3 separate regions of the Homo sapiens genome follow, and all the other regions are linked to region 3. Evidence: promoter capture Hi-C in human tissues and cell types (Jung and others, 2019). All regions are on one chromosome and are shown on one strand. Each heading gives the region's core, a stretch centred on a gene start or on the middle of the fragment in contact. The rest is flanking DNA. Distances are from core to core; before and after follow the strand shown.

Region 1 (3,636 bases), core at 317-2,816, 720 kb after region 3:
TATTTGTGCTTGGGAGAATGGACATTCAATGTCCACTGGATTTCAGAATAGGGTGTACCTAACTCTACAAACTAGAGTTTAACTCCATAGCTTAAGGAGTTAAACTAGGGGTTCTTATCTTGGGGTCCATTAGCCACATACTTCAGGGGGTAATCTATGAACTTGGATGGGAATAAAATTATTATAATTTCATTTTCATTAACCTTGAACTGAAATTTGGCATATACATTAATCATAAAGATAAGCAACAAACCATAATAGAAGTACCTGAGATTGTAACTGATATTAGATATTTTTATATGAGATTATGGTTTTTATAGATCTCAAAGTCTCATTTATGCTCATCTCTATTTAAGTATGTTATTAATGTAAAATCATTTTAATTTATTAAAACTGAATTTCAATATAATTGGTTTCCTTCATATTTTAATGTATTTTATTTCATACATTTAAAAACATTATTCTGGGGATGTGTCCACAGGCTTTACAGGGCCTGCCAATTGGCCCACAGCACAAAAAAGGTAAAGAACTTCTGAGATACAGAGTAGAGGGACTAATGAAAATGGAAAAGGGAGAGCTGGAAGGATGGGGAAAATAGCATGAAGCTGACCACTGAGCTAGTTAAGGAAAATCATGTGCAAGGCCATTAGAGACCTCATGAGACCCCAGATTTAGCCTCAGACATTCTACTGAATTCTCTGGTTTAATTTCCCAACTAAACTTTTTGGGTCTCAACCTAACAAAACTTAGAAAGGGCCCAGAAAACCGCAGAAGAATCACAGTATTAATGGGTGGATTACCTTCTAAATTGAAAAAGCAAACCCAGTTCAAATCTGCTCTGAAAGCAGAATGAAGCTCCAGCTGTCCACGTGACGAAGCAAAAGAATAAGCCAGAAAAAGTTGAGCAACAGCTTTTCCTGGAGATGAGATACTTACGGCTACTTGCTCTAGTAACTATCAACTACTCATGATTTATTTATGTCAAAAGTTACTTGAGTGCTGAGAAGCTTGAGGACCAAGGAAGAGATATCAGATTTTTTTTTCTTTTCTCCAGTCCAAACTAATGAACTACAAATGGCCAAGTTGTCAGAGTGGCCTTACCACCTAAGTAAACAATGGGTTGGCAACCCTTACAGAAACCAGAAGTCTGACGGCAACCTTTATTGTTTCTCTCATAAGCCCCTAATTTTTTTTTTTTTTTGAGACAGAGTCTCGCTGTATCCCCCAGGCTGGAGTGCAGTGGTGCAACCTCCACTTCGCGGGTTCAAGCGATTCTCATGCCTCAGCCTCCTGAGTAGCTGGGATTACAGGCACGCACCACCACGCCTGGCTAATTTTTGTATTTTTAGTAGAGACAGGGGTTCGCCATGTTAGCCAGGCTGGTCTCGAACTCCTGACCTCAGGTGATCCACCCACCTCAGCCTCCCAAAGTGCTGGGATTACAGGCGTGAGCCACCGTGCCCGGCCCCAAACCCTACTTTTAAATAAATTTTAAGTCAGGTTATTATTAGCCATCTTTTTTTTTTTTTTTTTTTAAGATCAAGTCTTGCTCTGTCGCCCAGGCTGGAGTGCAGTGGCGCAATCTCAGCTCACTGCAACCTCTGCCTCCCGGGTTCAAGTGATTCTCCTGTCTCAGCGTCCCAAGTAGCTGGGATTACAGACATGCGTTGTCACACCCAGCTAAATTTTGTATTTTTAGTAGAGATGGGGTTTCACTATGTTGGCCAGGCTGGTCTTGAACTCCCAACCTCAGGTGATCTACCTGCCTTGGCCTCCCAAAGTGCTGGGATCACAGACATGAGCCACAGTGCCCGGCCTATTAGCCATCTTTAAAAGTCTTCTCCCTGGGCCGGGCGCAGTGGCTCACGCCTGTAATCCCAGCACTTTGGGAGGCTGGGGAGGGTGGATCACAAGGTCAGGAGATTGAGACCATCCTGGCTAACACGGTGAAACCCTGTCTCTACTAGAAATACAAAAAAATTAGCCGGGCGTGGTGGCGGGCGCCTGTAGTCCCAGCTACTCGGGAGGCTGAGGCAGGAGAATGGCATGAACCCGGGAGGCAGAGCTTGCAGTGAGCCAAAATCGCGCCACTGCACTCCAGCTGGGGCGACACAGCGAGACTCCGTCCCAAAAAAAAAAAAAAAAAACCCTTTACTCCAAAACTGGTGTTCTATAATTACTTTTATTAGCTTTTCCTCCATAATTCTGAAAGCTAAGTTAATTGCTAGTACAATACAATGATCAAGAAATTAATGAGTTTATGTATTTCAGGGAAATCTAAACTTATGCGAAGTAAAACTTTACTATTTGAGCTGAGCACTAAAATGAGTCTTTGCATATACCTATCACTTTTTTCAAGAATATATTTACCACAAGGTAGAATTTCAACTTCTGATCATTTGACCAGATGTGACCACTTGATGTATGTTAACTCCAAAAACAAGTGTTTGAGGCAATATCCCTGTAGAAAACACTACACACTAGAATTTTTACCAATATTAGCTATAAATGACTAAACTAGTAACTAAACAAACTAAGTGATACACCTTTGTTTAAAGATACTGTTATAAAGATTCACTTTCAGAAGTCTGATTAAGATCAGAGAAGGGCTAATATCAAGAAACTTAATGAGGATGTGTTATATCTTTGGGAACAACCACCATGCATGTTTCACAGAACAGAGAATTAAAGTATTAGCCAGATTAACCATCATTTTTCTTATGGCTTTTTAATAAAACTACCAAACTCTATAACCACTCAGAGAAATAAACTGTTTATAGTTAACAATCTTTCCATAAAGCATAAACAAAAATACCAAGCCTGAACAGTTTTATAGGTACCACCAATTTTTAAGAAACAGATCATTCCAATAGTATAAACATTCTCGAAAGAATAGAAGAAATTACCATATAATCTTAATTCCCCAAACCATACAATTTTCATGAGAAAGAAACTACAGGTTTATCTTATGAACGTAGATGTAAAAGAATATATAATAGCAATCCAAACCCAGCAATGTATAAAAAAAGACATTATTAAAAATACAAAAAACAACAAATGCTGGCAAGGATATGGAGAAAGGGGAACACTCATACACTGTGGGTGGGAATGTGAAGTAGCACAGCCATTATGGAAAACAGTATGGAGATTACTAAAAGAACTAAAAATGTAACTACCATAGCATCCAGCAACCCCACTACTAGGTATGTATCCAAAAGAAAGCAAATATATCAAAGCATATATATTTCTTCTGCATGCCCATGTTTATTCCAGCACACTATTCACAACAGTCAAGATATGGAATCAACCTAAGTGTCCATGAATGGATGAATGGATAAAGAATATGTGGTATAGGCCAGGCATGGTGGCTCACACCTGTAATCCCAACACTTCGGGAGGCCAAGGAGGGCACATCACTTGAGCCCAGGAGTTTGAGACCAGCCTAGGCAACGTGGCAAAACCCCGTCTCTACTAAAAATACAAAAATTAGCTGGGCATGGTGGCATGCACCTGTAGCCCCAGCTACTTGGGAGGCTATGATGGGAGGATCACCAGAGCACAGGAGGTCAAGGGAAGTGGGCCATGATTGCACCACTGCACTCCAGCCTGGGAGACAGAGCAAGACCCTGTGTCAAA
Region 2 (3,841 bases), core at 1,342-3,841, 670 kb after region 3:
GGGTGACAAGAGAGAAACTCTGTCTCAAAAAAATAATAATAAAATTTAAAAAATGAGATAAAAAAGAGTAAGGGGTCCAGAGCTTCCTGGGGAGACTTCACCTAGGGTGAGGGCAGTGGGTTTTAAGGAAACAACAGTGCCCTATTTCAGTTTATATTAACTTTCCATTGAGCCAGCAGGTGACCTTTCTTCTCAGTTTTCTTGTATCTGTTCTTATGATTGGAAGAAATGAGGGGAAAAGCATTATGTGATGTAGAATTGTATAAAGCTTGGGAATTGTATGGAGGCAGAGGGATTTCCACATCTGTGTGTACCATGCCTGTCCTGTGGCGCCTGCCCGCTCACTTAGTAGCACACTGAACAGTGAAAGTGGTCAGCAGTGGTGTCTCTTCTGCGAGCAGGAGTTGTGGACTTGTTCCTGTGAGGCCTATTTAATGTAATGTCTTCCTGCTGCCCCATACCACCTCCTTACCTTCTCTTCCCTTTTTCTAGAAAGGATTTGGCTACAAAAACAGCAAATTCCATCGTGTAATCAAGGACTTCATGATCCAGGGCGGAGACTTCACCAGGGGAGATGGCACAGGAGGTAACCACAGGTCCTCTGGGCCAAGGAGTATGTCAGTGTAGCCTCCACAGTGGGAGGGCCAGGTTCTGCTGGGGAGACCAGGCCTCTTTCTTCCCCAGCTCTAGAGGCAGGCCTACTTATTACTTACCTACTTTGAGACCAGCGGCACCCTTCTTTGAAGAGGGAACCCAGTACAAAGGAGAGAGAATAATGGGGTGGACCTGATGGTAGATCTAAGAGAATCTCTCCCAGGTGACCGTCCTGCTGATCCAGGCCTATAGCCTGGTGACCTTTCCTGATACCTCTTCAGAATGGGGATTGGGGAGAGAGGCGTGTGGAAGCAAAGTGAAGACATGTGGGTACGCGATTCTAGGTCAGATGCCCAAAGCCTGTCCAGGCTACCCTGGAAGCCCCAGCAAGAGTGAGAGGGCCAGGCGTGGTGACTCTGTGATCCCAGCACTTTGGAAGGCCAAGGTGGCTGGATCACTTGAGGCCAGGAGTTCAAGACCAGCCTGGCCAACATGTTGAAACCCCATCTCTACTAAAAATACAAAAGATTAGCCGGGCGTGGTGGCACGCGCCTATAATCCCAGTTACTTGGGAGGCTGAGGCAGGAGAATTGCTTGAACCTGGGAGGCGGAGGTTGCAGTGAGCCGAAATCACGCCACTGCACTCCAGCCTGGGCGACAGAGCGAGACTCCATCTCAAAAAAATAAAAAAAAGAGTGGGAGCAGTTACTTTCCTTGACAGTCTTTCACCAGAGACCACTCTGTGAGGGCCGACCCTCACCTTGGCATTAACTTGCACACATAGGACAGAAAGACCCCCGGACGCCTGCATGAGTCTCACTGAGCTCAGGTACAGCCTGCTGCTCCCTTAGAACACAGCTCACTCCTCGATGAGTGTCTATGGGGCTCTGTGGTGGGGGTTGAGGATGTGAAGACCCATGGGGCAGTGGCTCCCTTTTACTTCCAACAACTGAAAATGTACAAGTGAGCCATGATGCAGCGTTTAGGACTCAGGCTCACAAAGGAGACCAAAGAACTGTATTTGTGGAGTCAGACGCAGTTGGGCTCGATCCAGTGTCTGCCACCTTCTTGTTTTGTGACCTCAGGCAAGTGAGTCCTTGGAGCTTCAGTTTCCTGTTCTGTACAGTGAGGGTGGAGAGAGTTGTGGGGCCATGAGGATTGGGCTAGATCTGGAGTGTGAAGTGCCTGGCATGCAGTGAGTGCTTAGTAAGTCAGCCATTGTTGAAGTGCTGACAAGCAGAGGGATCCCCTCAGGCCAGGGAACGGGGGAATGACCTTGCGGATGTGAGGAAAGATTTCAGTGGGGTCCTCAATGAGGAGAATTTGAACGGGCAGAAAAGAGGCAGGGTTAGGGCATGAGCCCGGTGCTGTTCTGTGGCAGGAGCTTGGCCAAAGGTGGGGTGAGGACATCTGTACCCGGAGTGCAGAGAGGTGGGTGATGTCCTGCAGCCTGGGCTTCGGCCTGCAGGGAGTCAGGGCCACAGAGCTGAGTAAGAGGATGACCCCTCACTTGGGGTGCCAGGGGAGTCATGTGGTGGCAGATCCAGGATGTGGAGGCTAGGGCAGGCAGGCTGCTGGGGGCATTGGTGCCACTGACCCTGGGCAGGGAGATTTGGACCTGATCCTGAGGTGGCTGAGAGCAGAGATTCGAGAGCAGACCACCTTGGTCTGAACTCTAGCCCCGCTGTTGCTCTGCTGGGGCTCCTTTTATTCTCTGTGCCTCAGTTTCTTCATCTTTGAAGTGGAGTTAGCTCCTCCTCATAGAGTGGATTGTTAAATATGTAAGATGCTTGGAACAGTCTCTGGCTCACACTATGAGCACCCTAAGCACTCGCCTACTGCAGCGGTGGTGGTGGGAATGGAAAGAAAGAGTAAGTACATGGGGAGTGGGTAGGGACAACCTGAGCCACGTGCAGAGGAAAAGGGGTCAAAAGAATAACTGAGGTCTGGAGAGAAAGATGACAAGGTATGTTGAGTTTAAATAGAAATGTCCATTTGAGTTTGGAACCCCTGTATCTTGAGAGAGTGGCTGGAGCTAAGGATGGAGATTTGGGGGTTTTCTGGATAACAACTATAATCAAAATCCCACAGTTGGCTCAAATGGGGGAGGCTTTTAGCCAGCACTCCAGCCAGGTCTCACTGCACATGTGGCAGAGTCCAGTCTCCCCAGCGTGGGGGTGAGAGGTGGAGCACAGGCAGAAGCACCCTGTCCCCACCAGCCAGAGTCTGGTCATTCTTGGTTTTCAGTCATCCTACCTGCTGCCCAATCAGAAACATCTTCCTGGTTGGCATCTGTCTAGGACAGTTTCCCAGCTCAGTTCCATTCTGTGGAACCACAGGATGAAGGTAGGTGCAGTGAGAAGGAAAAAAGAGTTTTGCATGCAAATATGTTTGAAAGGTGTTAGATAAAACAAAATGAAAATGACCCCATTTTTGGCTGAGTTTCTTGGGGCCTCATGCACAGTGTCAGTCTCCAAGGGGTGATAGGGAAAAAGAAGGGTTTCGGTGTTCCTCGTGGAAGCAGCTTTGGAACTAGGATCTCTGAAATGGCATAGAGATCACTCCGGATTGCCCTTACCATATCCCCAAGCCCCACGTGGACAGACGCGTCACACACACTCACAGCTGTCTTTTATTCCTGTTCATTCCTTGTTAAGAGGCTTTGACTCTCCAGAATCCAAGGGGCAGCCCCTCTTTTCTGCCCCTCCCCACACATCTCTGGCTGCTTTCTCCTCTGCAGCTATGCCTGTGTCTTTTGTGCTCATAGGAAAACAGGCTGGTCAGCCACAGCAGTCCTCCTTTTCTGGAGAGTTCCGACCCTGTTGACTCCCCTGCATCCTGCACGGCACTTCCCTCCACCAAAGTCCCTCCGTGGCAGGCCTGGGCCATAGCTAAGGGGAGCTGATAACATGCGCCTTATTTAAAAGCCACAAAACTATCTTCTCAAAGTAATCCTTCTGTGAGCTGTTCACCACATCAGCCTGGCCTGATGCCCCACTTGGCCTCAGTCAGCATGGCTTGGCTCTGAGGCCAGAAGATAGGAAGGACGCTGCTTTTATGTCCTTGTAGTCCACTCCAGCCTAGCCTGGCACAGAGGACAGGTTAAGCCCCCTCAGTCCTGGCCCCGAATGTCTGCTTGGTTTGGCGCAATCCAGCGCCCCTGACCTGCTCTGTCTTTTTTCCCAGGAAAGAGCATCTACGGTGAGCGCTTCCCCGATGAGAACTTCAAACTGAAGCACTACGGGCC
Region 3 (3,993 bases), core at 1,494-3,993:
GCCAACATGGTGAAACCCCGTCTCTACTAAATATACAAAAATTAGCTGGGCATGGTGGCATGCACCTGTAGTCCTAGCTACTTGGGAGGCTAAGGCAGGAGAATCGCTTGAATGGGGGAGGCAGAGGTTGCAGTGAGCCAAGATAGCGCCTCTGCACTCCAGCCTGGCAACAAATAGAGACTCCACCTCAAAAAAATAAGAAGAAGAAGAAGAAGAAAAAAGAAAACCCTGGCCGGGCATGGTGGCTCACGCCTGTAATCTCAGCACTTTGGGAGGCCGAGGTAGGCGGATCACGAAGTCAGGAGTTCGAGACCAGCCTGGCCAATATGGTGAAACCCCATCTCTACCAAATATACAAAAATTAAATGGGCATGGTGGCACGCACCTGTAGTCCCAGCTACTTGGGAAGCTGAGGCAGAAGAATCGCTTGAACCCAGGAGGCAGAAGTTGCAGTGAGCCGAGATCCTGCCACTGCACTCCGGCCTGGGCAACAGAGCACAGAGCCAGACGCTGTCTCCCAAAAAAAAAAAAAAAAAAAAAAAAAAAAAAGGAAAACTCTAACTTTCCACTCCTAAGTAAGGACAAGAACAAAAGGACCAAAGGCTACTCCCTTTGACGTTTCCCGCATGGCAGATGGGAGATTGGCAGATGGGAGATTGGCTGTCTGCAACAAATCATAGGAGTGTGGGTCCAGTCTTCGTTTGCAACTTTGTAACTTCACTCCAGCCTCTGAATGGTGGCTGAATGGTTGCTGTCTGCAACCAATCAGACTGATTATCGCTACCACTTCAGTTACATGAAGTAAGCGTAAAGTTCCCAATGGGAAACTTCTAGGGGGTATTTGAACCCAAGAAAATTCTGTATCTCGGGTCCCCTCCCACACTGTGGAGTGTACTTTCGTTTTTGTTTTTTGTTGTTGTTGTTTGTTTTGAGACAAGTTCTCGTTCTGTCGCTCAGGCTGGAGTGCAGCGGCACGATCCAGGCTCACTGTATCTTCTGCCTCCTGGATTCAAGTGATTCTCATGCCTCAGCCTCCCAAGCAGCTGGGATTACAGATGTCCACGACGACACCCGGCAATTTTTGTATTTTTAGTAGAGACAGGGTTTCACCATGTTGGTCAGGGTGGTCTGGAACTGCTGACCTCAAGTGATCCCCCCACCTCGGCCTCCCAAAGTGCTGGGATTACAGGCGTGAGCCACCGCGCCTAGCCGTACTTTCGTTTTCAAAAAATTCCTGCTTTTGTTCTTTTGTTGCTTCATTCTTTCTTTGCTTTGATGGGCATTTTGTCCAATTCTTTGTTCAAAACGCCAAGAACCTGGACAACTTTCAGTCATCACCCTCTACCGCTAACAGACTGGGAGCAGTGTGGTGTAGTAGCTAAGCCCCATGGAGTGATTAAGCGAGCAGGTAATCTGGGTTCAATGTTTGGTTTTGCTCTCCATATCAGCTATGTGACCTTCAGTAAAATCTCTGGAAGCCTTGCTTTTTTCTCATTTGAAAAATAAGGTCCGGGCTCATGCCTGTAATCCTAGGACTTCGGGAGGCCACGGTGGGTGGATCGTTTGACCTCCGGAGTTCGAGACAAGCCTGGGAAACATGGTGACATCCCGTCTATACGAAAAAAAAATTATATATATATATGTGTGTGTATATATATATATGTGTGTGTATATATATATGTGTGTGTATATATATGTGTGTGTATATATGTGTGTGTGTGTGTATATATATATATATATATATATATATATATATATATATATAAATTAGCTGGGTGTGCATCTGTAGTTCCAGCTACCTGGGGGGCTGAGGCGGGAGGATCACCAGAGCCCAGGAGGCGGAGGTTGCAGTGAGCCACGATCGCGCCACGGCAGAGGTTGCAGTGAGCAGAGATTGTGCCACTGCACTCCACTACAGCCTGGGCGACAGAGTGAGCCCTAAGAAGGAAAAAGGAAAGGAAAGGGCAATTTAATCCATGGTAGTTATCATTATCTGTAAAATGAGGTAGCCAGACTCACCTGTAAGATCCTTTCCAGCTATGTAATTCCAAGCTTCAATGAGATAATAAAGATGATTAAAAGTAAATTCTTTCAGCATCCTGTGCAAGAAGAGGGATACAATTTCCCTGAAGACAGAGACTCTACTCGCTTCCGCTGTACCCTCTGGCACGTGGCACAGGTCTCAGAGTTTCTCACTCATGGGCCTCAGGTGGGTGAGAGAGCCAAAGCGTAAAGTCCCTTACAAAGGCAGAGAAGGATGTAGAGTTGGGGGCGGGGGAGGGATTGGGCAGGCCTTGGGGTGGTCTGCCCAGAACTGGACAATGGTACTGTGAGTGTAAACAGGGGTGTGAGAGTCCAAAGGCAGATCTTCCCCAAGGCTAAGCCCAGCCTCTGTGTGCGGGCTAGAGGGGAGAGGGAGTGTGCTGGAAGGATGGTTCTGAAAATAAATCTTCGGAGTCGCGTAGGGTTTTCAGACCCGACACCACGCGCCGCCGGGTGGCTGCCGCAGCGGCGGCCTCCTCCCACCACGCCCAGCCGTCCACTGGATTTGGTATGCTCAGCCACCACCATAAACCTCCTTCCTCTAGCAGGCAATTGGTACAGCCCAAGCTCCTGGAGTAGAGACGCAAAGAAAGACACGCCCATTGTTACGCCCCTACCTCTGAGTGGCTGGAGAATTTAAAGATCCAGTCGGTGATTGGGTGATTTTCTGCCTCTAGCATTTGAAAAATTTCTAGTTTCGGAGCTTAGCCACAGGCCGGCTACGATCTGCTTGTTCATCTGAGTGTCGGCACAAGTGAGTGTCTGCCCGAACCCAGAGGTGGGGAGCAAAGAGCCTGATTTATCTAGGGGTTTCCGGCGGGAGGGTGCAAACAAATGGGTCAGCCTGAGGGAGCACGGCTTCTAGGGTCCCAGGGTCCCCCGCGATTTCCCTAGCCGAATATTTTCCACCTCGTCCCCACCTTGGTGGTGGGAAGCGCGAGGGCATGGGAATCACACTGACTTTGACTACTAGCCGCTGTGGCTTATGAAGGGCAAGTGAGTTTCCCTCTCTTAGCCTGTTTCCACGTCTGTACACGGGGAAGAGTGAGACCTGCCCGCTGCATATAAGCCAGTGAATGTACCTACAAGGCAGAAGTCGCTTATTACACGGCAGCCCTCTTTGCATCTCCCCACGGGCGATTCTCCTGCTTCCTGGGGAGAGTACTCTGAGGATTCATGTGCTCGCCCTGGGTCTCGGGGAAGGAGGATTCTTTCTGCGCAGGGACCCCTGTTCTAGTGAGGTCCTTGCAGGACACCTGAGGCTCCCTAATCCTCGGTGCCCATCCGCCGCTCTGGAAATTGTTGTGTAGCACGGTGTGTGTGTATATGTGTGTGTGTGTGTGTGTGTATATATATAGAAATTGTATATATATTGTGTGTATATATATATAGAAATTGGATATATAGAAATGGAAATTGTGTAGCAGGGTGCGTGTGTGTATATATATATATACATATATATACACACACACACACACATATATATAATGTATGCATATGTATGTATTTATATGTATGTATTTTTTTTTTAATTAGAGGGTGTCGCTATGTTGCCCAGGATGGTCTCGAGTTCCTGGGCTCAAGCGATCTTCCTTCTTCAGCCTCCCAAAGTGCTGGAATTACAAGCGCCCGCCACCACGCCCGGCTAATTTTTGTATTTTTAGTAGAGACGAGGTTTCACCATGTTGGCCAGGCTGGTCTCAGAACTCCTAACTTCAGGTGATCCGCCCACTTTAGCCTCCCAAAGTGCTGGGATTAAAGCGCGAGCCACTGCGCCCGGCCCAGGGCATATTCTAAGGGTGGATTTTCGGTTAGCCCAAAGCCCTTTCTCCGTCTTTGTGACCTCTTTGTGTTACCAGTGACAGTCCTCGTGATCTTGTGTAGCCTTGACCCTGCTCCCTGTCACGTCCTTTATAGCACCCATTACGTCCCCTATAGCACCCATTACGT

The links. Contacts are between HindIII fragments. The study calls those that stand out against the background at their distance.
Region 1: a contact is called between a fragment that was not itself captured here and the fragment with the promoter of PIF1 in region 3, in 1 of the 25 tissues and cell types used here (hippocampus).
Region 2: a contact is called between a fragment that was not itself captured here and the fragment with the promoter of PIF1 in region 3, in 1 of the 25 tissues and cell types used here (neural progenitor cells).

What each region holds. Positions count from the first base shown.
Region 1 is chr15:64,102,784-64,106,419 of GRCh38, reverse strand. All of the region lies in intron 1 of SNX1 (sorting nexin 1), which reads right to left. Among named protein-coding and RNA genes, the nearest start is that of SNX1, 8.6 kb to the right of the region's middle. RefSeq lists a silencer at 936-1,230. The HindIII fragment of the contact is 7,036 bases long and covers 1-3,636 here.
Region 2 is chr15:64,156,849-64,160,689 of GRCh38, reverse strand. SNX22 (sorting nexin 22) reads right to left here. Exons shown (of 7, transcript NM_024798.3): 7 at 3,209-3,841. PPIB (peptidylprolyl isomerase B) reads left to right here. Exons shown (of 5, transcript NM_000942.5): 3 at 493-586; 4 at 3,781-3,841. Among named protein-coding and RNA genes, the nearest start is that of PPIB, 4.3 kb to the left of the region's middle. The HindIII fragment of the contact is 7,647 bases long and covers 1-3,841 here.
Region 3 is chr15:64,824,397-64,828,389 of GRCh38, reverse strand. It overlaps PIF1 (PIF1 5'-to-3' DNA helicase), which reads left to right and starts at 2,743. Exons shown (of 13, transcript NM_001286496.2): 1 at 2,743-2,821. RefSeq lists enhancers at 2,481-2,610, 3,800-3,993. The HindIII fragment of the contact is 20,575 bases long and covers 1-3,993 here.